5 separate regions of the Homo sapiens genome follow, and regions 2, 3, 4 and 5 are each linked to region 1. The links are contacts of gene promoters, found by promoter capture Hi-C in blood cells and fetal thymus (Javierre and others, 2016). All regions are on one chromosome and are shown on one strand. Each heading gives the region's core, a stretch centred on a gene start or on the middle of the fragment in contact. The rest is flanking DNA. Distances are from core to core; before and after follow the strand shown. Region 1 holds the start of C1QB (complement C1q B chain). Region 2 has its middle 60 kb from the start of WNT4. Region 3 overlaps LACTBL1 (lactamase beta like 1). Region 4 has its middle 73 kb from the start of ZBTB40. Region 5 has its middle 55 kb from the start of ZBTB40.

Region 1 (4,907 bases), core at 1,708-4,207:
ACATCCACATACATTCACAGACACACACATAGACACACATACACACATAGACACTCATGCACATGTACACACAGATATACACACAGACGCATACACACATACATACACATACACACATACACATGCACACACATACACATACAGAAATACACAGTGGGAGAGCAGGAGGCAGGGGCGGAAGAACCTGGACGGTTCACTGAGTCCAGTGCCCCCGGCGGGGACAGCGTGAAGGCCACGGCCACAGCATCCACTGCTCTCCTCCACCAACCCCTTAGCTGTCGGCCGGGCGAAGCTGTGGGTGATATGTCTTTCTTCTCATTTCTCTTTTGTTTAAAAAATCAATACACCATTTATGTAGGTCACAGTGTCATATCAGAAACCTGTACTTTGGAAATGACAATTTTGTGCCATTTTTATTTTCCATAATTGTTTCCTTGTTGTTCTCTCTTCATCAGGGGGGCAAGCCTTTGAAAATGCCAACGTGTCTGCCTTGCTGAGGGGAGGCGGGGGAGAGTTTTTCAGTGGGGCAGGCAAGGAGGGGTGGACGTGGGGCAGGAGCCAGGACAAGACACCCCAAGCTGCAAGGAACCCCTTTCCAACCACAGGAAGGTGAGGGGGTGTAGGTTTCTTTTTCCACTCTTTGCAGGGATCAGGGATTTTCCACTCTCAATCAGGGATGTGAGTCCAAAATTTTGTAGGTACAGAGACCAGCTGGCTCCCATTAGCGGTCAAGGCCCAGGGACCCCTCAGCTCCTGATCCCCAAGTCCAGGCCTCCTCCTAATCCAGGCATGGCTTCTTTGCTCCTGGGTTCCAAGAATTCCATCTTCTCTTCATATAAGTAATACCGTTCCCATGTTTGCAGTGGGTGCCCACCAAGGGCTGGGCACTCACCTGGCCCTGGACATGGCAGGGGGACCTCGCTGGCCCCCAAAACAGCCCCAGGAGATAGGCGTTCATGCTTCCCATTTCTACACGAGGAAACTGAGGCCAGTAAACATTCCCGTGGCCACATAGTTAGCAAGACGAAGAGCTGGGATTCAAACTGCCAAAGTCCGTGCTCCTAACCCACCTCTGCTGCTTCCTGTTCTTAGCCTCACTGCTTCTACCCCAAATTGACATCCATCTTTTCCCATTGCCCTTAGCCACCTAAGAATTAGAGGCCCAGAGGCTGGGCATGGTGGCTCACGCCTGTAATCCCAGCACTTTGGGAGGCCGAGGCAGGCAGATCAACTTGAGGTCAGGAGTTTGAGACCGGCCTGGCCAACATGGTGAAACCCTGTATCTACTAAAAAAAAATACAAAAATTAGCTGGGCTTGGTGGCATGCACCTGTAGTCCCAGCTACCTGGGAGGCTGAGGCAGGAGAATCGCTTGAACTTGGGAGGAAGAGGTTCTAGTGAGCTGAGGTCGCACCACTGCACTCCAGCCTGAGCAACAGACTGAGACTCCATCTCAAGAAAAAAAAAAAAAAAAAGAACTAGAGGCCCAGAGCCACTCGGCTTTGGGAATGCTCAGAAGCCCTCAACTTGCAACCTACTAACTCGTTTCTCCCTTTGTGGAATCCAGTGTTTCTTCTCTTCACCCTAGCCTGGGTCCCTTCGGGACTATAGTTGACTGAGCTCAGAGACCTTTTGGTTTTATCAAACTTATCTTTCCCTCCTGTTCACCCATTGCAGTTAACACTTAATTTCCACCAAGCTGCATCCACAAGCCCAGTGAATTTCCATCTCCAAGCACAGATGTCAAGAGGGCCTCCAGCTCCTGGTGCTTGCTAGTCATCATGTCGTCTGAGACGCAGCCACAGGGAGAGACTGATATCCTAGTGCCAGGGATGCCGGCTTCCAGGTCTGCATCTGCCACCTCCATGAGGCATCGGCCCCAGCAGTCACGTCTTTCTGTGACATTTATCACAGAAGCAATGAAGCCTCATGTCATTCCGTGTTTAACACCAGTCTCCCCCCGTAGAAGGGAGGCCCCATGGGGGCAGGGACCATGGCTGATTTGCTAAGAGCTCTCTCTTCAGTGCACATGGAAGCAAACACTAAATATTTGTTAAATGGTGGGTCTCCCCTCTGGGCCTCAGTTTCCTCGTATATAAAATGAGGAGGATGGGCCGAGTAACCTCAGCCCCTCTCCGGCCCTAACTTGGCGTGATTCCAGGATCGAGAAGAAGCAACAGGCCCCTGCCTGGGCCTATTATTGTCATCAGCGTCCAGCCCTGCTGGAAGCAGAGGGAGGGGTATCAATAAATAATGAACACATTTAAAATTCATTATGAGATTATTTTCTGAGAACAGGGAAAGAGCAGGGGCACAGAATGGGAAGGAAGCAGAAGAGATGAGCCCAGAAAGGGGAAGCCTGGGACATGAAGTGATATTAACAATGAACACGTGCACAGCCCTTTACAGTTTACCCCCAGACACTTCCTCCCCCATCATTTCCTCCATTATCCTCCCAGTGGCCTGTGAGATCTGTATCTGTAGAGCAGGTACAATTATGGTCCCATCCTATAGCAGAGAAAATTGGGGCTCCCTTGACTGACAACACATCAACTGGCAAGTGGCAGAGGCGGGATTGGAATCAAAGGCTCTGACTGTAAGCCAGCACTCAGGCAGCGGGCCCGCCACATGATGCTCACTGAGGAACACCCCTGCCCAGTGTAGAAGAAGATCACGAGGTCAGAGAGCCTGGGAGGGTGAGCTGTGGATGTTCCCCCAGGACAGCGTGTTCTCCCCACAGCTGCTGAGTTGGCAGAACCAAACTTGCCACCCACCCGTCTCATTTACAGTAAATCCAGTGGGTTGCAGAAATAGGACCTGAAACTGCCTGAGGGCAGCAGGGTGGGGGGACAGTGAGGGGACGGGAAAGGGGCCAGCCTGCTGGTCCATGGGAGGGGACCGTCAGGGGAAAGCCCTTCCCGCCTCTGGGGAAGGGAACTTCCGCTTCGGACCGAGGGCAGTAGGCTCTCGGCTCCTGGTCCCACTGCTGCTCAGCCCAGTGGCCTCACAGGACACCAGCTTCCCAGGTGAGGACGGGGCTTGGCGCCTGGGGGAGGCTGGCAGGGCCAATATGGCAGAAAGTGGTGATTCCGTAAGTGTGAGCTTTGCGTCACCTGCCTCGGAGCCAGTTAGGCTGTTTAACAGTGCAGGTAGCTGGGCCCAATCCCAGACCTATGGGACCCAGATCTCTGGGGTGAGTTGGGGAGTCTGCTGCTACCCAGGGCCTAGCGGATGGGCAGGCCACCTAAAGCGGGAGCCTGGCACATAGGAGCTTTGGCATCGCAGAGACTTGAGCTGAGTCTGGCTCTGCACCTTATGTATTGGTTATCTTGGGCAAGTCACCTAACCTCTCTCAGCCCGGCCCCCCTACAGAGAACAGAATCTTTCAGCACTGCTGTGCCTTACAGGAGATCAAGCTTGCAAAAGCTTAGTGCATGCCCTGGCTCAAAATTTATCAGTAAACCAGAGGCAGGAGTGGGATTATAAGCCAGTCGCTCCTGCCCGGCCCAGCATTTCCCCAACACCTTGCTTATTTCCTCATACTCGCTGAGAAAGCTCAGCTTGACTCTTCCAAAGAAATAAGGGGATGTGCAGGTAGAGTTACGATGAGTTCTCAGCTAGTACTGAGTGAGCGCAATGTTTGTGCAGCTGGGGAGTGGGATGTGGCACTGCACGGGGCAGGGGGGACCTTATTTCTTCTAAGCGCCTTCTCCTGTCATCCTTCTGGCAGCCCTGTCAGGTTGAAATCAGCATTGCCAAGAGGCTCAGAGAGGTTAAGGCACTTGCCTGAGGTTATGCAGCCGGTAGCAGATGGGGCTTTAAAGTCAAGTGGGCCTGACTCCATGTTGCGGAAAGGGACTGCTGGACCGAAGGAGATGGAAAGGTCAGAGCCTGGGGGGAGGACAGGAGAAACCGCGCTGGCAATGATGATGGGCTGGCACAGGCAGGAGGCAGTTAAACCAGATGAGTTGTAAGCCCTAACCCAAGGCTGAAACTCGGTGGCTTTTGAAATGGGCTAGAACCAGCACTTTCCCACTCCCCCTGCCCCTGGCTTCCCCAGGAAGCCCAAGTCCTGTCAGTACCCTGCTCCCCACCCTCTCTCCCCACCAACTGGTCACAGCTCTCCACCCCTTGCTGCCTCCAACTGACAGAGCCCCTCCCTCTAAACACAGTCTTTCAAAGGGATTGTCTTTTTTTACTTCTCCAACCATCTTCCCTTCTGTTCAACCACTCAGGAATTCTTGGATGACAGTGATAATAATAAAATAGCTAATATTCATTAAGAATTTCCAACATGCCAGGCTCTGTTGGAAGCTGTAACTCATGTCCTCGCACATACCCTATGAGGGAGAGAGTAGCATTATCCCCACTTTATAGGAGGGTAAACTGTGGCCAGAGAGAAGGAGTGATTTCCCAAGTCCCTTAGCTAAGAAGCAGTAGAGACCTTATGTGAACGCTGAGTGTTGCTTTCCTTGTGACACTACAGGCTCCCGCCACCAGGTGAATGTGTGCTGCCTAACAAGAGCAGCAATCATCGTGGTGGTAAAAAGCCACTTTCACCGAACACTGACCATGTGCCTACCACTACCCTTGGTGTGTCCCATGCATTAGTCCTTTTATCAGGCTGTCTGGCTTCAAAGTTTATGTTTTTACCACCAGGTACAGTGGCCTCTTAACATAACATTGAGTTTTAAGATCCAGTGGATGTGGGTTTGACTCCCAGCCACACAGGAGCTGTGTGACTTTTATCAAGGTGCTTGCCCTCTCTGATCCCGTTGCCTCATCTGTAAAATAAGAAAGCAAGAGTGCATTCTCAGGGGCTGAATATCAAATTACAGGGGATAATGGCATGCAAGCCATCTGGCTCAGAGCCTGGCCTATACGTACCCAACTTATTAAAGTTGTTAA
Region 2 (4,907 bases), core at 711-3,210, 450 kb before region 1:
GCACCCAGCACAGGGGCTGGCATGTAGGTTCAACATATGTTATAACTGAAGGGAAATATTTTGTGTTAAACACACAGACTCCAGAGCCAGACTGCCTGAGTTCAAATCCTAACTCTACCACTTATCAGCTGTGTGACCTTGAGTAAGTTACTTAACCTCTCTGCACCTCATTTTCCTCCTTTCCTATAAAAGGAGGATGATAATAGTATCTCTCTCATAGAGTTGCTTATGGATTAAATCAATGAATTATTTGTAAAAGCTTATAAAAGCACATAGTGTTATGTAAGTATCAAGTATTATTAGTACTATTACTATTATTATTAATTATGTTGTTATTATTAATGCTATTAACCACGTGGTTACCCTCCTTTTAATTTCAGCTGCATTTCTACACATTAGAGAAGCAATTGAGAATAGGTGGTCAGATGGTCTGGATTTGAGTCCCAGCTTTCTCATTTACTATCTGCATGACATTAGACAAGTGACATAAACTTGCACAGTACAGGTACCTACTTTGTGGAGTTAATATATGGATTTAGTGAGTTGCATATGTAAAGTACTTAGAAAAATGCTTGCCAAAGCCTGTTGGCTATTATTATTATTATTTTTATTTTTTGAGATGGAGTTTCATTCTTGTTGCCCAGGCTGGAGTGCAATGGGCAATGGCGTGATCTCGGCTCACTGTAACCTCTGCCTCCCGAGTTCAAGCGATTCTCCTGCCTCAGCCTCCCAAGTAGCTGGGATTACAGGCATACACCACCACGCCTGGCTGACATTATATTTTTAGTAGAGATGGGGTTTCTCCATGTTGGTCAGGCTGGTCTCGAACTCCCAACCTCAGGTGATCCACCCACCTCAGCCTCCCAAAGTGCTGGGATTACAGGTGTGAGCCACCGTGCCTAGCTGCTATTATTATTATTGTTATTATTATCATTATTTCTGGAGTCCAGCTTCTCAAGGCCCAGTCTCTAGCTGGGTCACTCAGAGACTGTTGGATGACACAGACCCGGGATGCACAGTCTAGGGAAGCAGCATGCAGCTGGTGGGTAATCTGACCATTAGGGCTGCCCTAGAGCCTGTCCAGGAGGTAGTGTGCCCTCTGTCACTGGAGGTGTTTAAGCAGAAGCTGCAGGTTTGGCTGGATGATCCAGAAGCTTCTCTGTAGGTGGAGACTCTGGGAAGTATTAGCGGGGGTCAGAGAGGATGGAGCTCAAGGTTCTGAGAAGGTGCTTTAGAAAAATGCTTGGGAGCTGGGCGTGGTGGTCCACGCCTGTAAACCCAGAACTTGGGGAGGCTGAGGTGGATGGATCACCTGAGGTCAGGAGTTCGAGACCAGCCTGGCCAACATGGTGAAACCCCATCTCTACTAAAAATACAAAAATTAGCTGGGTGTGGTGGTGTGCACCTGTAGTCCCAGCTACCCTACTCAGGAGGCTGAGGCAGGAGAATTGCTGAAACCCAGGAGGCGGAGGTTGCAGTGAGTCGAGATCGCACCACTGCACTCCAGCTTGGGCGATACAGTGAGACTCCTTCTCAAAAAACAAAACAAAACAAAAAAGGATAAAGAAAAATGCTTGGGACTGGCTCAGACTCCCTTTCCCAGCTTTAATTAGAGCCATTCCACTTGTATCTGTTTTATATTTTGAAAATCCAGAGAGAATTTTTTTTGGGGGGGGTAGTGGGGAAAGGGGTCCTGCCACTAGGAACTATTTGAAAGCCTCATAGTCCACTCTGCATCACTTTTTTTTTTAACAGAAGGGGAAAACTGAGGCTCAGAGAGAGAAAGTTATTTACTGAGGTCCTGCAGCAAGTCTGAGGGAAGAACTGTTCTGAATCTGGGACTCCTAATGCCTAGTCCAGTGCTGGCTTGATTCCAACCTCCAGGGTCTTCCTGTGGCTGCCACCCCCAGCCTAGGATGGGTACGCTGCCCTCAGCCCCCTCCTTGGTTGGTGACATTGGCCCTGGCATCACTTGAGCTCAGCCCCCTGGAGTGGAATCTGCACAGGCTGCTCTCCCTAGGCTGAAGTGTTAACTTCAGCCCCTCACCTTGGACTCAGCTTATCTGGGCTCTCAGGAGCTACAGTGTCCCCATGGTGACACGAGGAGCCTATGCCATCCACTGAGGTTATATTCAGTCATTTATTCATCCAATTAACAAGTATTTATTGAGCTTCTACTATATGCAGGATATAGTGCTAAGTTCTGGGAAGATGGTGTTGTGTGATTTAAATGAGTCCCTGCCCGCATGCATCTTAGTTACAGTCTAGTAGGGATGGTGGACAAATAAACAGTTGATTCCATTTGAAGATTGGTTTAGTCAGGGTAGGCCAAGTGTTGTAACAAACAATCCTAAAATTTCAGGAGCTCAATACAAAGTGGGATTTCTGGGCAGGTGGCTTTCTTCAGCTGCCCTCATCTAAGTGATTCAGGGATTTAGGCTCCTTCTGTTGGTGGCTCTGCCCTTCTGCAGATCCTCAGAATCCTCTCCATTCAGCTGGAAGATGGGGACAATGAGCAAGCATGCAGGATCTTGTGGGAAGTCAAGGCCAGGCCTGGAATGGTATCCATCACTTCTGACCTTCTTCCATTGGCCAGAATTCAACAACATGGCCCCACCAACTCCAAAGGAGGCTGGGAAATGTAGTCTAGCTGTGTGACTGGGAAGAGAGGGAGATGTGGTTTGTTGAGCACACTGTAGTCTGTGCCAAAAGTGTGATCACTTCTAAGTTAGAGATAAGCTAGAAGTATTGTGGGGGCACCTCAGAAAAGCTTTGTAGGGTAGGTGACATCCGACCTGAGACCTGGAGAATGAATAGGAGTTGGCCAGGGGAAGAGGAGGGAGAGAAGTGTTCTTGCATAGGAGAAGGCTGAGCGTGATGTGTTAGGAGAACTAGAAGAGATATTCAATCTTGCTAGAGCTGAGCCTGGTGGCTGGGGAGGGCAGTGAGCCATGAGGCTGGACCAACAGTGGGATCTAGGCTTGAATGATTGTGACAATCAGGACATGGGAGCCAGGAAAGGGGAATGACACAGTCAGATCAGCCACTGAGATAGATCTCTTTTGCTTCTGAGTAGAGGATGGACCAGAGGGTCAAGAGGTGGGAAGCTGCTGGAGTCTCCAGGTCGTGGGTGATGTGGCTAGACTGGGGAATGGTTGTGGTGTGGGAAGGAAACAATGCTATATAGAAGGAAGAAGAGAGAGGACCTGGTGATCCATCAGATGAAGGGGTGATGAGGAAGTCTCAAGGACACTGCTGAGCTTATGTAGTTACAACTTGGCTGGTTCCACCAGAGTGGTTGGCCACATCTGACCCACTAGCTGTTTTGTAAATAAAGTTTTACTGGAACACGGACATGGCCATTCATGTATGCATTGTCTACAGCTGGTTTTATGCTGCGGCAGCACTTGTTTGTTGTGACAGAGACTGTATGGTCCTCAAAGCCTAAAATATTTACCATCTTGCCCTTTACAGATCAGTTTGCTGACTCTTGAGCTGAACAGTTTTTTATTTCAGTAAATTTATTAGAATGAGTTAAAATAGTATTATGCTTAGGCTGTCATTGCTTCATTCATTCATCTTCTATTTCCTGGCCCTCTTTGATGGTGCTGGCCCTGCCTGCCTGAGTCCAAATAACTGTTCTGGTTGCTGCGGGCAGCAGTCTTAGAGGCAGATGCCTGCTTCTGCACCAGGGCGCATGCCTGTGGTGGGATCTGTAGCACACCTGGCTGATGCTGTTGCTGGCCGAGATGTGGGGCCAGCCTGAGCCAAGCTGGCTTCTGGGGCTGGGTTGTTCGGGTCTTCTGGGGTGATCGCGTTTCCACGAAGTGATTCTCAGACATGGTGTCGTTTACTCCTAATGACAGTCCCTGGGGGTCAACATTACCATGCCTCCATTGCGTGGATAGGAAACCAAGACTTGGAGAGATACTTGCTCAAGGCAAAAGGGCAGATGCAGACAGAGCTCTTCTGGGTCTGAGATGAAGATCCAGGAAAGGTGGTCTCAAGTCCTTCTCCCCCGAAGACCCAGGGCGCAGGACAAGAGTGTCCACTGCACCAGGACTCCTGGACCTCCCAGCCATCTGGCACCTCCTCTGTGTTGGTCCCAACCAGGGGTTACAGATGTGAGCTGGACAGTGTGGGAATGCAGCTTCGCAACAGTAATTAGTTTATTCCTGAGGTCAGCAGTCTAAATAGTAGAAAAATGTATTTCCTGTTCCAAGCCAAATAAGCAAGTGGCAGCCAGTTGGCCAGGTGCCACTGATGGGATTCCACCCGTGCATGTGCCTTGCCTTTGGCCACGAGTTTGGGCGGGAAAGCAGGAGAAAGATTGTCCCTTCACAGGTCCCGTCCTGCCCTTGACTGAGGACTTACTGGGAAGATTCCCACAGCTCAGGATCCTCCCAGGTAGTTCCAGGTTCCTGCTGTGACCGTGACCACTGAAGGGTGATGGATGTGCCAAGAAGGGCAGCGCCAAGGCAGGCTTTTCCCACTGGCACTCGCTCCATGTGCCTGGCACAGCTCCTGGCACGTGGGTGATGATCAAGAGATTCGTGAATGCACGAATGAATGGGATGGTGCCAGCTTTTCAAGTGGAAGGAACTGGATGTGTAGCAGAGGCCACATCAGTGGATGAGGGGGCAGAGCCGTTGTTTCGTTTTTGGGGTTTATTGAGGACATCAGAAACCACAGCCTTGGACCATTCCATTTGGTGCTGAAATAACCAGATGGCTGGATCCACCTTAGGCAAAGTGCTCCTGAATATATGGAGTTTTTTCAGGTATTCGGATGCTTCTTCTGTAATAGGTATGTCTGTAACCCTTCCACCTTTTGTTCATTCATTCGTTCATTTGTTCATTCATTCATTCATTTTTGCAGAGGTATTGCATGGTGGTTAGAAGTGAGGG
Region 3 (4,907 bases), core at 1,220-3,719, 300 kb after region 1:
GACAATAACAAGTGTTAGCAAAAATGTAGGGCAAGCGAACTGCCACATATGACTGTTAAGAATATAAAATGGTGGCTGGGTGCAGTGGCTCATGCCTGTAAATCCCAGCACTTTGGGAGGCCGAGGCAGGTGGATCACAAGGTCAGGAGATCGAAACCATCCTGGCTAACACGTTGAAACCCCGTCTCTACTAAAAAAAATCCAAAAAAAATTAGCCAGGCATGGTGGTGGGCACCTGTAGTCCCAGCTACTTGGGAAGCTGAGGCAGGACAATGGCATGAACCTGGGAGGCGGAGCTTGCAGTGAGCTGAGATCACACCACTGCAATCCAGCCTGGGTAACAGAGTGAGACTCCGTCTAAAAAAAAAACAAAAAAAGAATATAAAATGATACACATATTTTGGAAAACTGTGTAGCAGTCACACCTAGATAGCTACCCGAGAGAAATGAAAGCATGTATTGACACACAGACTTGTATAGGAATGCTTTTTCATAATGGCCCTAATCTGGAGACAACCCAAATGTTCACCAACAGAGAAATGGATAAACAAATTGTGGCATATATGAGCAATAGAATAAAAACAATAAACTATTGGCTGGGCGTGGTGGCTCACACCTGTAATCCCAGCAGTGTGGGAGGCCAAGGCAGGCAGATCACAAGGCCAAGAGATCGAGACCAGCCTGGCTAACATGGTGAAACCCCGTCTCTACTAAAAATACAAAAACTAGCTGGGCGTGGTGGTGCGCGCCTGTAGTCCCAGCTACTCTCGGGGCTGAGGCAGGGGAATTGCTTGAACCAGGGTGGCGGAGGTTGCAGTGAGCCGAGATCGCGCCACTGCACTCCAGCCTGGGCGACAGAGTGAGACTCCCTCAAAAAAAAAACAAAAACAAAAACAAAAGCAATAAACTATTGATACACACACAGACATGAATGAACCTCAAAACCAGCGTGGTGAGCAAAAGAAGACAGACACAAAAGACTCCACCATATGGTTCCATTTGTATGAAATTCTAGAACAGGCAAAGCTAATCTATAGTGACAGGAAGCAGATCGGTAGTTGCCTGAGGCTAGGGGAGAAAGAGAACTGACTCCAAAGGAGTAGGGGGAAATCTTGGGGGTGATGAAATTTTCTATATCTTGATTGTGGTGGTGGGTATAAATATTTGTCAAAATCACCCAATGGTACTCCAGACATGTGTATTTCATTTTATGTAAGTTATAATTCAATAAGGTTGATTTTCATTTTTATTTTTTTGACAGGGTATTGCTCTGTCACTCATGCTGGAGTGCAGTGGCACGAACACGAGTCACTGCAGCTTCCAACTCCTAGACTCAAGTGATCCTCCTGCCTCAGCCTCCTGAGTAGCTGGGACTACAGGACACCACACCCAGCTAATTTTTATTTTATTTCTGTAGAGATGGGGGTCTCACCATGTTGCCCAGGCTTAGGTTGATTTTTTTTTTTTTTGAGATGGAGTCCCACTCTGTTGCCCAGGCTGGAGGCAATGGCGCAATCTTGGCTCACTGCAACCTCCGCCTTCCAGGTTCAAGCGTTTCTCCTGTCTCAGCCTCCCCATTAGCTGGGATTACAGGCACCCTCCACCATGCCTGGCTAATTTTTGTATTTTTAGTACAGCCGGGGTTTCACCATGTTGGCCTGGCTGGTCTCGAACTCCTGACCTCAAGTGATCCGCCCGCCAAGGCCTCCCAAAGTGCTGGGATTACAGGCGTGAGCCACCGCGCCCAGTTGCTTAGGTTTATTTTTAAAAGACAAAATACAAGCCCATATTTTGTTTTAGATTCAACAGGCACAAAACTACTGTTTCGATGCTTAAATTTTTGGTTGCCTGTTAGTTTCTAAATGCTTACTCTTAATGCCTGTACTTAATCCTTCCTCCCCTATAGATGTGGAGAAATTTGAATTTCTGGCTGTGGTCCAAGACCACACTTTGAGTAGCATCACCCTACTCCACTTTGCCAACTACCCGGGTTCTCCAACAGGCATTCCCACAGGCTCCCCTTCCAAACCTTACTCTAGAAAGCTGGGAGGCCAGGGACAGGGGGGTCCAGGCAGAGCCCGGGGTCACTGGGTCTTGAACACCGGCTTGCCCCGCAGCCGCAGCACTCTGTACGTGTTGAGGCCGGGCACGTCGAAGCCGGGTGACAGCCCGTGGTGATCCAAGGGGTAGAAGTTGACCAGCTGCCCGTGCTGGGCCTCGAGCGAGAGCCACGCGTCGCCGAGTGGCAGTGCGCAGGGGAACTCGTGGGCCACGTGCAGCTGGAAGACGCGGCCGTGCAGGTGGCGCAGCGCCAGGGTGCGGAACGCTGGAGGCACCAGCGCCTCCACGCGCGGCCCGAACTGGCGCAGGCGCAGCTCGCCCGCCGGCCCGGCGCGCACCTCGTAGAAGGTCAGGTTGGCGAAGGTGAAGTAGCCGGCGAAGGGGTGCGCGGTGGGCGGCGGAGCCGGGCCGGGCTCGGCCTCCCGGAGGGCGCGCTCCAGGGCGGGCAGGAGCTCATCGTAGGCCCGCGCCACCAGGTCGGGCCCGGGCGGCCGTGGCCCTGCCAGCAGCAGCACCAGGCCCAGACGCAGCGGGGGCACCAGCGAGAAGGTGGCGGCGTAGCCGTCCAGATCGCCGTCCTTGCGCACCACGCGGTAGCCCCGCTGCGCGTGGAACTCCCACGGCGTGCCCGTCTCGTTGGCGAAGTAGGCGCCCGGGCAGGCCAGCAGCGGCGCCAGCAGCGTCTTGGCCGCGTCGGGCCGCAGGAGCCGCCGGGGCCCGCCGCCCAGGAGCGCCACGGCCAGCTTGGCCAGGTCGGCGGCGGTAGAGTACATCTGGCCCGACGGCCGGTACCAGCCCAGGTCATAGAGTGGCGCCGGCCGCCCGCTGCCGTAGAAGCCCGCGGCCAGGCGCGCGCGCACGTCGGGCGTGAGGTCAAAGCCCGTGTCTGCCATCCCCAGCGGCTCCAGCACGTTCTCCGAGACCCAGCGCTGGTAGTCGCCCTGGGCGGTGTGAGCTGCCAGGACGTGGGCCAGGAGCGAGAAGGCCAGCGTGCTGTAATGGCATCTGGAAGGAGAGCAGTGGCAAGTGGGACGGGGCCCTTCCTCACCCGCCCGCGCTGTCTGAAATGCCACCAGTTTCATGGGACTGGGCGGGGCTGGGAAGGAACCTGCTCCCCTGCATCCCAGGTGGTCAGACCTGGAAGAGACTTTGGAGCACTGACTCTGACTCTCTTCTACATCTGGGAAGACCAAGGCCCAGAGAGGGGCGGGGAATTGCCCAGGGTCATACAGCAGGATGGAGGAGAGCTGAGCTCAGCGGTGCACCTGGGAAAGCTGTCACACAAATCTTATTGGTCCTTCACACTTTAGTATGATTTACCTTATCTAATGGAAAATTAAAGGCTTACACTGCTCTGGGGAAACAAAAATGATAGTGACCATGTATGAGGCAAGGTCTCACCCCTCCCTTCTTCCAGGCTGTAGCAGACACCAGTAACCAGCAAGAGGCCTCTTTTCTTTCCCAGAGCAAATACAGTTTCAGAATCTCTAAAACAGAAAGGTGCAAGGATGTGTGAAAATTCACAAATTCTCCTAGGCATTCCTGAACTCTGGGCCAACTTCCTTATTTTTGCAGATGAGGAAGATTAGTTAGATGAGTTTCACAGAGATAAAGTGCACCACCCAAGGTCACATTGCCATAGTTATTTGCAGAGCTGAGAGGAGGACTCCAGCCTGAAGATGTCCAAGCATCTCCTCTCTCTGCATCTCCTGGATCATTTCTTCCTTAAGGGAAGTGGGGCCTGAGGTTCAGCATTTGGAGAAGCAGAGGGACAAATTTGGAAAAGGGTCACTGACCAGCGGCTCAGAAGGGGGCCCCTGAAGCTGGGGAGTGCCAGCTGTCCTCTGTCCAGCCCCACAGCCCCACTGCTCCCAGAGTGGGGCTTCTCTGTTCAGTGGCCACCCAGCTATCCACTCCCCATCTGGTCAGCAACCCGTTTATTTCCAACCTGGCAAAATCTGTATTCACCTTGCTTATTTGCTCACGGTGTCTCCCTCACAAGAGTGCAAACTCCACGAGGAGCAAACCGGGTGTTTATCACCTTCTGGGCAAAGTAGGTGCTCAATAAATGTTAAGTGGGTAAATGGAAAAAACATTCCATTCAAACAGAACAGGATTCTGGGCCCAGCTCTCCCCTGTCTTGCTGGCCTCCCCTCTCTAGGTCTTGCCCTTTGCAGCTGGGGAGCAGGTCTCTCCCGGCTCTGCCAACCTAGGATGAGGTGATGTGGGCTCTTTGCCAGGCAGGTGTGTCTCCCCAGGAGGCTCCTAACATGAGGCTGGGCATCAGGGTATGCTCCTCACCTGGTTCCCGGGTCCACTACCAGCACATCGTCCTTGAGCAGGTTCAGGGCCTCCTGGGTGCTGCCCTTCCACAGCAGTGAAGTGGAGCGCAGCCTTCTGGGCAGCCCTAGGGAGGAGCAGTGGTCAGACTTACCGGGCCCGGCTGAGGGTGGGATGGTGGGCCCCTGGGTGCACTCCCTCCCCACCTTCCGTGAGTTGAGAGATAACAACAACAAATCAGTTTTTTAAAAAAGAAAATCAGCCTAGCGTGGACTCCAGTCCTGCCTTCTCTTCCTGCCTGTGTGTCACTGGGCAGGTCACTGGGCCTCTCTGAGTCCCAGTCCTTCATCTGTAATATAAGGGAAATAATCCTTGTACCCAAGGGCTGATTAGATTAGATTGGATAAAATGTTTAGTATGGTGCCTGGCACATACTAACTGCTCAAAAAATAATTGCTATCATCAACTATAGAAAGTTTGGGGCCGGGCGCGGTGGCTCACACCTGTAATCCCAGCACTTTGGGAGGCCAAGGTGGGCGGATTGCCTGAGGTCGGAGTTCAAGACC
Region 4 (4,907 bases), core at 1,005-3,504, 280 kb before region 1:
TCAGGACCTTGTTCGGTCGGGGTGAGTCTCAGGAAATCTCCAGCACTGTGGAAGTTTCTTTCTGACCACTTGCAAATTGGCAACCCTGCCCTCTCCCTGCTCTCTTACTCCAAACAGAACCAAACTTCACTTGTGGGCAGGAATCTGCCTTCATCAGAGCAGAGATGGACAGTGTGGACTCTAGCATTGCATAGAACCAGGATTGAAGCCGAGCTCCGTCACTTGGCAGCTGTGACTGCAGCTGAAAGTCCTTCACTTCTCTGACTCACAGATTCCTCGAGTGTAAAATGGGAATAACTCTCCCACCCTGCCCACTTCAGGCCACTGGCAAGATTAAGGGGGACCTGTCTGTGGAGCATTTAGCCAGGCACTCAGTGAATGCCCTGGAAGCGGTAGCTGTCGGTATCATTGTCCCAGCCACAGAGGGACATCATGGCTCGGCATTTCCAAACCAGAAGAGGCCATTTCCCCTAACTCTGTCATGAAACCAAGAGGAAATCACAGAGATAGGGTGGATGTGCCTGGAGTCAAATTGGAACTGGGTGGGAGGAGCCCAGGACAACACAAACCTCTGACTCTTGTGTCGAAGGCACCCCTAAATTTTGCCAGCATTTAGGAGCAAATGAAAGGGTAATGAAAGAGTTTTATCTTCTTAGTGCTAGCACGCTGATGTGGTCTGAATGTTTCTCGCCTCCAAATCTGATATTGAAATTCGATTCTCAGTGTTGGAGGTGGGGCCTAGTGGAAGGTGATTGGATCATGGGGGCGGATCCCTCATGACTGGTTTAGTGCCATCCACTTGGTGACAAGTGAGTTCTCGGTCTGAGTTCACAAGAGATCTGGTTGTTTGAAAGTGCAGCATCTGCCCCGTCACTCTGTTGCTCATGCTCCAGCTATGGGATACACCTGCTCGGCCTTCACCTTCTGCCATGATTGGAAGCTTCCTGAGGCCCTCACCAAAGGCAGGTGCTGGCACCATGCTTCCTGTACAGCCTGCAGTACCATGAGCCAATTAAACCTCTTTTCTTTATAAATCACCCAGTCTCGGGTATTGAATAGCAATGCAAGAACGGCCTAATACACACACCAAGTTTCCTTGGGGAACTAACCCTCCTCCATGCTCAGTATGTGTGATTCACTGGGGTTGACACCATCACCCCAGAACCAGGCCTGCCAGTCAGATCCCTGATTCCTCTAACCACAGTGATTGGCTCACAGATGAGCATGTGACTCAGGCTAGGCCAATATGAGGCCTCTGGAATTTTTGCTGGAGCTCCTGGGAAAGAGGCCTCTTCCTTGAGCAGAGGTGGCTAAGCTGATAGGACATAGGCCTGCAGCTGCTGGTGGGCAACTTTACAAGCAAAGGAAAACACAAAAAACCTGCCTACGAGTGAAGCCAACACAGAAGAAAGCAGAGCCAAAGGCTGTAGGGAGAGTTTCTTGACAATAACATCTGAGCGCCTAGATCCAGCCCTGACTGAAGCTGTCCTCTCCTTTGGACATGTCAGATAAAAGTATTAATAAATTTCTTTTTCCGCTTGAATCAATTTGAGTTGTGTTTCTGCCACTTATAATAAAAGAATCCTGATGAATACAGTCCAGAAATACAGACTGCTGCAAACAGACTGGGTGATTAAACAAATGAATTAATAAGTGAATAAGTACATGAGTTAATAAAGGAGAAAGAAAACAGCGAGTGAGTGAATGACTGATTCAGGGAGTGAGTGAGTGAAATATGTATGCTAGGAAACAAGCCACTCTTGTCCTCTAGGCCTCAGGTACCAAAGCCTTCTGTTCCAGAAAGGCCTCCTCTATGGCTCCAGGTTTCAGGAGGTCCCTGAGTAGCCTGTGGTATTTTGTTAGGGAGGATTTGGCAGTGTGTCTCAGAGGGCATCCAAATATCTTGGGCAAGTCACTTAACCATTGGAGAGCCTAAGCTTCCTCGTCTATGAAATGGGGATAAGAAGTCTTCTCTTCCAGGGCTATCATGATGGTTAAATGAAGTAATGCACATAAAGCACTTAGCACAGGGCTTGTGCTTGAAAGCCATTTCACAAGCAATAGCACGATTATCGTTCCTGTTATTAGGCTTTCAGGCCCAGCTCATTTCTGCCCCCTCCAGGGAGTTTCCCTTGACCATCTGCACCCCTATCAGCTGCCTTCTTTTGTAGCAGAATTGACCCGTTTGCCAAGCACTTGGACACTGTCTCCTCCAGGAGTCTTGCTCAAACTTTGGGACATCGGAAACCCCAAGGGGAATGTGTTACAAATGCAGACTCCTAGACCCACCTCCTGAGGACCCTTGCCAGAGGCCTGCTGTGGGGCCCAGGAACCTGCATTTTCACCAACTCCCACACCCTGAGATGATTCTGAAGCAAGACCGTACCTGGAGAACACTCATATGTGCATCATCGCATTTTATAGATGGGGAAACTGAGGTTCAGAGGAGAACACAGATTGGCCCAAAGTCACATAGTGATTCACTGGCAGAGTTGGGCTTGCACAAGAATTTGTGCCTTGTGGACCTGGGCTGGTTCCGCCCTGCTGTGGAGGGGCTCCCTCTCTTCAGACTGAAGCTTTCCTACAGCCCCTCAGCATGCCTTTCACCACTGGGTGCTCCAATTCTGGCCTGCCTCTTGCTTCCAGAACATATGTCCACCAGGGCCCTGAACCTAGTTGGTGCTCAACAAATATCTTCCAGATGATGGGCATGACTCAGGCAGGGCCAACATATTTAGCAGATTTTTTGACAGACAGGTTGGGAATGGCATGAATGACCTGGCCATGGGAGTGATGGAATCTCCAAAATGGCACTAGGAAAAAACCGTCATGCCTTGATGGGTCCCAAAATGTATATAGTTTTTCTTGGTTTTTCTTTTCTCTTGACAGAGATGCTGAATAAACCTGCTAGAATGTAAACTCCAGCAAACGGGAGTTGCCTGGACTTTACCCTCCCCCTGCCTGGCATGCTGTAGGTGCTCAATAAGTGTTGCTGAGAGGAAGGATATGAGCTGTGGACTCTGCTTCCCACTCTAAGTAGTTTGTTCTCACTGTAGATGGTCTGATGGTAACAAAAGTGTTATGTCCCCTGGAGGTGTCCCTGCTCCCCTCCCACAACCCCTCCCAACCCCTCCAGCTGTGGAGAAGGCGGAGATGGAGAATCACGAGTTGGTCCCAGTTCCCATTCTTGGGCCATCTTCTGCAGCTCCGTGTATCTATGGGATGGAGTGTGGGTGGGAAGAAGGCTGATGCTGAAATCGCCACTGCACCGCCAGGCCTGCCATCCCCTCTGGCTGCCCGGCCTTCCTCCATTAGCACTTTGGCGCTGCAGCCCTTGGCTGAGCCCAGACTGGATTTGATTGATTCTTTATGGGCTGCAGATTCGATACCCATGCAGAGCACATGTGGAGGATAAGCCAGGGAGGAGGCGGGGGAGAGAGTTGAGGCCAGGGAGAACCTGGGGGGTCAGACCCTAACCTTTGCAAGACATGGGGCTTCCCCAGGCCTGGCCCAGACCAGGACGCCCCTTCCTGCTGCACCCTCATGCCAATGACTCTGGTTTCTAGAATTGCCCTGAAGTTCATTTCCCAGCAATGTCTGATCAAATAGGGATGTCCAAGGGCAGGCTCTTCAGATGGGACAAGCCCGGGCTAAACGTCCTCCCCAAAAAATGCAATGTGAGCATTGTTCATCTGTTATTGATTGGGAGACTGTGAGCTTTGCTTCCAAAATCTCCAATAAAACTGGCTTGGAAGAGAATTTCCTGAATCCCTGGGTAAGTGGATAAAGATGTTCCAGGAGTCTGGGGTGGTGCCGGTGGGGAAGCTCACACACCATGCACAGTTGGTTTTTCCCTTTGTTACTTAATGAAGAACAGAAAACAATCAGCCTCATCTCTCTGCATCCAGAGTCGGCTCCCTTCTTCCTTTGAGTTAATTTCCGGTTGGAGGCTGGTGCCTGCTTAGCCGGAGGGCCCCCGGGAATCTGCTCCTCTTCTCTTTTGGGTTGGGGGCTGGAGGCGGCTCATTCTTCTGGGCATCCCGTGGTAGGGGTCTTGCACCTGCGTGTGGCATTAGGCGGGTAGGGGGTTTTGAGGGAGCACAATAGAGCATTTGGGAGCTGGCTCAGTTGCTGGAGCAGCCTAGGTTACAGAGAGATGCAGCCAGCTCTGAGGTCCTGTCTCAGCCGTGACCAGCCTTGTGACCTTGGGCAAGGGACTTCAATTTCTGGGCCTCAGTTTCTTCATCTGTGAAATGGGCATCATTTCAACCCCTGCTTCAAAGGGTTATGATAAGGACTCGAGGAGGCTATGGATGTAAGGCACTTGTGTGGTGCTGGTGCAGAGCAAGCACTCAATACATGTGGGTTGTTAGTCCTATTCGCTCCTGACATCAGCAGCTGGGACTCCGCTGACTTCATGGTGAGCCCCAGAGACAAGAGAGATGGGATCACCCTTTCCTTGGACTGTTCCTCCCCTTCCTCCACCCCCACCACAGCCCCCTGGGTCACGGCCGGAAGGATGAGGACAGGCTATCTGAGTCAGAGTGTGTGTCATCTGGGAGTGGGGGGTGGGGTGCCCCTCCATGGGAGAAGAGCCTGAGGCAGGCCAGGAGCTAGAGACCTCAGCCCAAGCCAGGGTGTGGCTGGAGAGGTCAACTTTTGGCCTCATGACTCCACTGTGTGGAGAAAAGAGGCTTGGGCAGCCTCCCGCCTCCAACATCACTGATCTGGGCTTCCTTAGCCCTCACAGCAGGTGAGGAAGGTGCCCCCTACAGGTGGTCTCTTCCCCTGAGCACCTCTGGGGCTTCGAACTCTGAATGCCTCATCCCCCAGGTGAGGAGGTTGATTTTTGCCTTGTGAATCTCAAAGGGTTGTTAGACAGCTCCAATCATGGCAGGGCTCAGAGA
Region 5 (4,907 bases), core at 992-3,491, 260 kb before region 1:
GTAAGATACATTTATGCTACTTTAAGCCGCTAGGTTTGTGGTAATCTACTACAACAGCAATTGAAAACTAAAACAGTTAGGTTTTCAGTTACTTGTAACCAAAAGCATCCTGTTTACATCATAACTCCACTTATTAACATAGCTAACAGTCTTTTTCAAATGTATTATTATTATTATTTTGGAGACAAGGTCTTGCTCTATTGCCCAGGCTGGAGTACAGCTGAAGTGTGATCATAGCTCACTGCAGCCTCAAACTTCAGGGCTCAGGCAATCCTCCTGCCTCAGCCTCCTGAGTAGCTGGGATTGCAGGCACAAACCACCATACTTGGCTGTAGCTAACAGTTATTAAGCAGGTCTTCTCTTTCAGTATGTTGCTAAATGCATTATGCATTCTATCTAATTTAATCACCACAATAATTCTATATTGTTGAAACTATTAGTCCCATTCTAAATATAAGAAAAACTGAGTCTCAGAGAGGTGAAATCACATAACTAGTGAGTGAGGAGCCTGGATTTGAATTGAAGTTTGCTTGACCCCAAAGCCTGTCCACTTTTCTCTACATCCTGCCGCTAGCTCTCAGTTCACCCCTCTGTGGTGAAGGCTGGCTCTTCTGTATCCCAGGAAAGGAAAGTGGTTCTAGCTGCCCAAAGGACAGTAGAGAAATGCCAGTGTTTCCAAATCTGCATGTCAATGCTCACCTTAACTTTGAGGCTTGCCCTCACCCACACGCTCCTCTTCTCTACTCCACCGACAGTGCTGTCATTTAAAAATCACCTTCCTTATAGAAGAAATGTCATTATGTTCACAAAATCTAAAACACCCAAAGAGAAGATAAAGAATTCCACCCTTTCAGATATGTGACCTACATCAGTGTTTCTTAAACTTTTGTCTGTGTGGGGTGTGTGCGGGGGGTGTGTGTATGTGTATGTGTGTTTTATTAGAGACAGAGTCTAGCTCTGTCACTGGGGCTGAAGTGCAGTGGCATGATCATAGCTCACAGCAGCCTCAAACTCCTGGCCTCAAGTGATCCTCCCTCCTCAGCCTCCCAAAGTGTTGGGATTACAGGCGTGAGCCATCGTGCCCGGCCATTTCTTACACTTTAATAAGCACACGAATCACCTGGCAGGCCTGAGCATCTAACCAGTTCCCAGCTGATGCTAATGCTGTGTTTTCTCCATCCACACTTTGAGTAGGGAGAGTCTACACAACAGCAAATCAATGAGCATCTGGAAATTTGGAAGTTGCCAGGGGTTGGCTGGCTGTCATGGGGCTCCATTGCTTGTGGGTGTGCCACGGAAACATAAATCCCAGAAGAGAACTCTCATATCTCCGAAAGCTCCCATTTAATTCTCAATTGTTGGTCATTCTCCACCCCTCTTTCTGTCACCCTTCCCCCACATGCAATGCATCAGCAAACCCATCAGCTCCATCTTCAAAATATATCTGAAATCTGACCACATCTCGCCCTTCTGCACCACACTCCTTATGATGAAGTCCAAGCCACCATCACCTCTCATCTGCAAGATTACAACTGCCCCTTCCTGGGCTCCCCACTTGCATCCTCGCCTCGCTACAGTTCATCTTCCATACAGCAGCCAGAGGGATTTTTAAAAAGGAACATGAGATCTCTTTCTTACCTTGCTCAAATACGCCAGGAGAGCAAAACTTCAAGTCCTCACCGAGGCCTACGAGGCCCTATGGGATCTGGTTGTTCTGTCACTCTAACCTTACGTCCTACAACTTTCCCCTTTGCTCCTTTCACACCAACTGCACTGGCCCCCTTGCTGCTCCCCATACATGCCCAGCACATTTTTGCCTCAGGGCCTTTGCACTTGTTATACTCTCAGAGAGCCCCAGGGTTCACTCACTTTCTGAGCTCTGATCACTTTAAAATATGGCCTCTCAGAGAACCCATCTCTGACTATCCTGTCCAAAATTGTACTCCCTGCCCTGCCACTCTGTCCCCTGTCCTTGATGTTTTTTTCAAGCACTAATTACTTCCTGACATTGTGTTTTACATAATTTGGTTATGTGACCCTGCTCCCCGTAGAAAGTAGGCTGTCCGTGGACAGAGACTCTCTCTGTCTCGTTTCATCTCTGTGTCTATAGAGCATAGAACAGTGCCTGGCACATAGCAGGGGTTCAGTAAATATTTGCTGAATGAATGAATATTGTTTTGCATAGGATGTATTTGTACACACACCAGGGCTTTTCACCTAGATGATGTTCTTATTGAGGGAAAGCATTGTAAACCCCTAAAGCACTTCCCAAGGAGGCATCCAAATTGTCTTGAACAATTGCAGTTTTCTTGGTATAAACTGGAAATTGAATGTCCACAGCAAGTACACAGCATCCTTGCTTCCATTCTTCTCTTCTGCTCACATGACACACATTATTTATAGATCATGGTAAACAAGTTTTCCCCCAGTGAGGGTTTGAAATCTTGGACAGGTGAGGTGCTGGTGGGGCAGCCCTCATCACAGAAAGCACCCTGGCCATGGAGGTCTGGATATTTTCCCTTGACATGACTTGCAGCTGGAAAAGACCACAAATGTGACAGAGGACAGAATGCCCAGAGGGCTGGGACTAAGCAGCTGAAATTGACAAAAACGAAGTCCAAGCAAGGTCAATGTTGTCCTTCGTTCAACCTCCTGAAAAAACCAAGCATCACCATTTGCCCTGTGGAGATAATATAAAGTGTGGTAGAGATGCATGTCTCAAGCTCTTTTTCACAATCTTCTTTGTATTGGTGAAAACTGGAAACAGGAAGGTGTTGGAGCCAAATCTCATAGGTCTTCATGATGAACTACTAAAGGCAGATTCTCAACCTTGGCACTATCCACATTTAGGGCCAGTAATTTGTTGTTTTGGGGGCTGTTTTGTGTATCATAGGACGTTTAGTAGCCAGTAGCGATGCCCCTCACCCCACCCGTTGTAACAACCAAACATGTCTCCAGCCATTGCCAACTGTCCCCTGGGGGGCCGAATCGCCTCTGGCTGAGAACCATGACTGTTACTTCAAGAAGAATAATGCTTCTTAATACCATGGGAAATGCTTATGCTGTTAGGCTGAGTTAAGGAAAAAGGTGCAAAATGTGTTTTCAACTATATTCATATGAATATAAACAGTGACATAGAAGAAATTTAGGAAGAAATATGCCAAGACGTTAACAGTGATCTCTGGGTGGTGGAATGATGAAAGATTTTGCCTTACTTCTTTATTTTTGCTTTTATACGTTCCTTCATTTGTTCAACAAATATTTATTGAGCACCTACTACATGTCAGGTGTTGTTTTAGGACCTAGGGAGAAGCTGTGTAAGATAGACATTCCTGTGGCTGTGTACAAGACAGACATACCCATGAGGGGACAGGCATTATATAGGACTCTGCCCTCACAGAATTGATGATGTTCTATGGAAGGATACACATGAACCCCATAGCCTGTAAAGAACAATACTCTGGGGCTGGGCGCGGTGGCTCACACCTGTAATAGCACCTCGGGAGGCCGAGGCAGGTTGATCACTTGAGCCCAGGAGTTCAAGACCAGCCTGGGCAACATGGCAAAACCCTGTCTCTACTAAAAATATAAAAATTAGCCAGATGTGATAGTGCATGCCTGTAGTCCCAGCTACTGAGAAGGCTGAGGTGGGAGGATCACTTGAGCCCGGGAGATCGAGGCTGTAGTGAGCTGTGATCGCACCTCTGCACTCCAGCCTGGGTGACAGAGTGAGACCCTGTCTGGAAGGAAAAAACCAAACCAAACCAAACACAATACTCTGAGCACCTGATGAGAGCTACAAGGGCCGTAAAACAAGGGAAGGAGAGAGAACCAAGCCCAGCACTTAGTCCCTAGTCAATGAATATTTCTTGAATGAATGAACCCTTAGAGCATTTTAAGTAGAGGAGATGAATGATCTGATTTCCATTCAAAAATAATTATCAAAAAATGTTTTTTCAAAAAACGGTAATACATGTTTGTTATAAAAAAATCAAACAGCATATGGGGGAATATGAAAATCATGCGTTATGCAGCCCATAGAGAACAGCCACTGCAGACACTCTGGTGAACTTCTTTGCAAGCCTGCCTCTCACTCGCTCTCTTGCAATTCCTGCCTGTCCCCATCTCTCTTTATAAATATATAAAAGCATTTTACGCAAGTGGATTCAAGCCATTCATGCTGTTGTGTAACCTGCTTTTTTCCTGCCCTTTGTAATTTTATGCTCATTGTAAACTTTCCACAGTGGGCATGTATAACTTTTATAATCCGGAACATTAAAAAAAAAAAGCAAAAGACCACAAAAAATAAAGTAAAAACCCGCAAATACAGGATGAGGGTTCCCTGGCTGAGCAGTAAGGCTGTGAAGAAAGGCTTTGGGGTTTAGCTGACCACAAATTCAGCATGAGTTGACGGCATGCTGTGGTTTCTAATTTCAATCCAGTTCATGTTATCGGACAATTCCCCAGCTCCCAGTATGGGAAAAGTAAAGGCAATATAAGGAAGCTTCTCTGGGCTCAGCTTGAGACAACTCACTGTTTGCTCAATTCCCTGCCTTACAGCTTTTGAAACACCTACTACGTGTAAAATCAGGATGATAAGAACAGCTAATGTTTCAGGAGCACTTACTCTGTGCCAGGCAATGTTCTACGAGCTTTACATACGTTAACTTGTTTAATCCTCCCAACAACCCTGTGACATGGATACCATTATTCTTCTCATTTTACAGATGAAGAAACTGAAACCCAGAGAGGTTAAGTCACTTGCCTAAGGTCACACAGCTTACTAAAGCACCATGAGAAATACCAAGAAGAGCAAGCTATGGGTCTACCCTCAAGGAACTGACCGTCAAAAGGACACATGTAAGAGCCTCACGTTAATTCATTCAACAAACATTTCGCTCTGCAGG

Evidence for each region. The method cuts DNA at HindIII sites, captures the fragments that hold promoters and counts their contacts. A CHiCAGO score of 5 or more calls a contact.
Region 2: a fragment that was not itself captured here is called in contact with the fragment with the promoter of C1QB in region 1 in 1 of 17 cell types (erythroblasts); the score reaches 5.2 in erythroblasts.
Region 3: a contact is called between a fragment that was not itself captured here and the fragment with the promoter of C1QB in region 1, in 1 of 17 cell types (endothelial precursors). The highest score is 6.7, in endothelial precursors.
Region 4: a fragment that was not itself captured here is called in contact with the fragment with the promoter of C1QB in region 1 in 1 of 17 cell types (erythroblasts); the score reaches 5.5 in erythroblasts.
Region 5: a fragment that was not itself captured here is called in contact with the fragment with the promoter of C1QB in region 1 in 2 of 17 cell types (erythroblasts and endothelial precursors); the score reaches 8.0 in erythroblasts.

Annotation. Positions count from the first base shown.
Region 1 is chr1:22,650,279-22,655,185 of GRCh38, forward strand. C1QB (complement C1q B chain) reads left to right here and starts at 2,958. Exons shown (of 3, transcript NM_001378156.1): 1 at 2,958-3,025. The HindIII fragment of the contact is 5,474 bases long and covers 1-3,413 here.
Region 2 is chr1:22,200,907-22,205,813 of GRCh38, forward strand. No RefSeq gene overlaps it. Among named protein-coding and RNA genes, the nearest start is that of WNT4, 60 kb to the left of the region's middle. The HindIII fragment of the contact is 1,616 bases long and covers 1,153-2,768 here.
Region 3 is chr1:22,950,959-22,955,865 of GRCh38, forward strand. LACTBL1 (lactamase beta like 1) reads right to left here. Exons shown (of 8, transcript NM_001289974.2): 7 at 4,363-4,468; 8 at 2,085-3,066. The coding sequence ends at 2,085. Among named protein-coding and RNA genes, the nearest start is that of LACTBL1, 19 kb to the right of the region's middle. The HindIII fragment of the contact is 6,484 bases long and covers 1-4,907 here.
Region 4 is chr1:22,375,964-22,380,870 of GRCh38, forward strand. No RefSeq gene overlaps it. Among named protein-coding and RNA genes, the nearest start is that of ZBTB40, 73 kb to the right of the region's middle. RefSeq lists an enhancer at 1-441. The HindIII fragment of the contact is 639 bases long and covers 1,936-2,574 here.
Region 5 is chr1:22,394,754-22,399,660 of GRCh38, forward strand. No RefSeq gene overlaps it. Among named protein-coding and RNA genes, the nearest start is that of ZBTB40, 55 kb to the right of the region's middle. The HindIII fragment of the contact is 4,522 bases long and covers 1-4,502 here.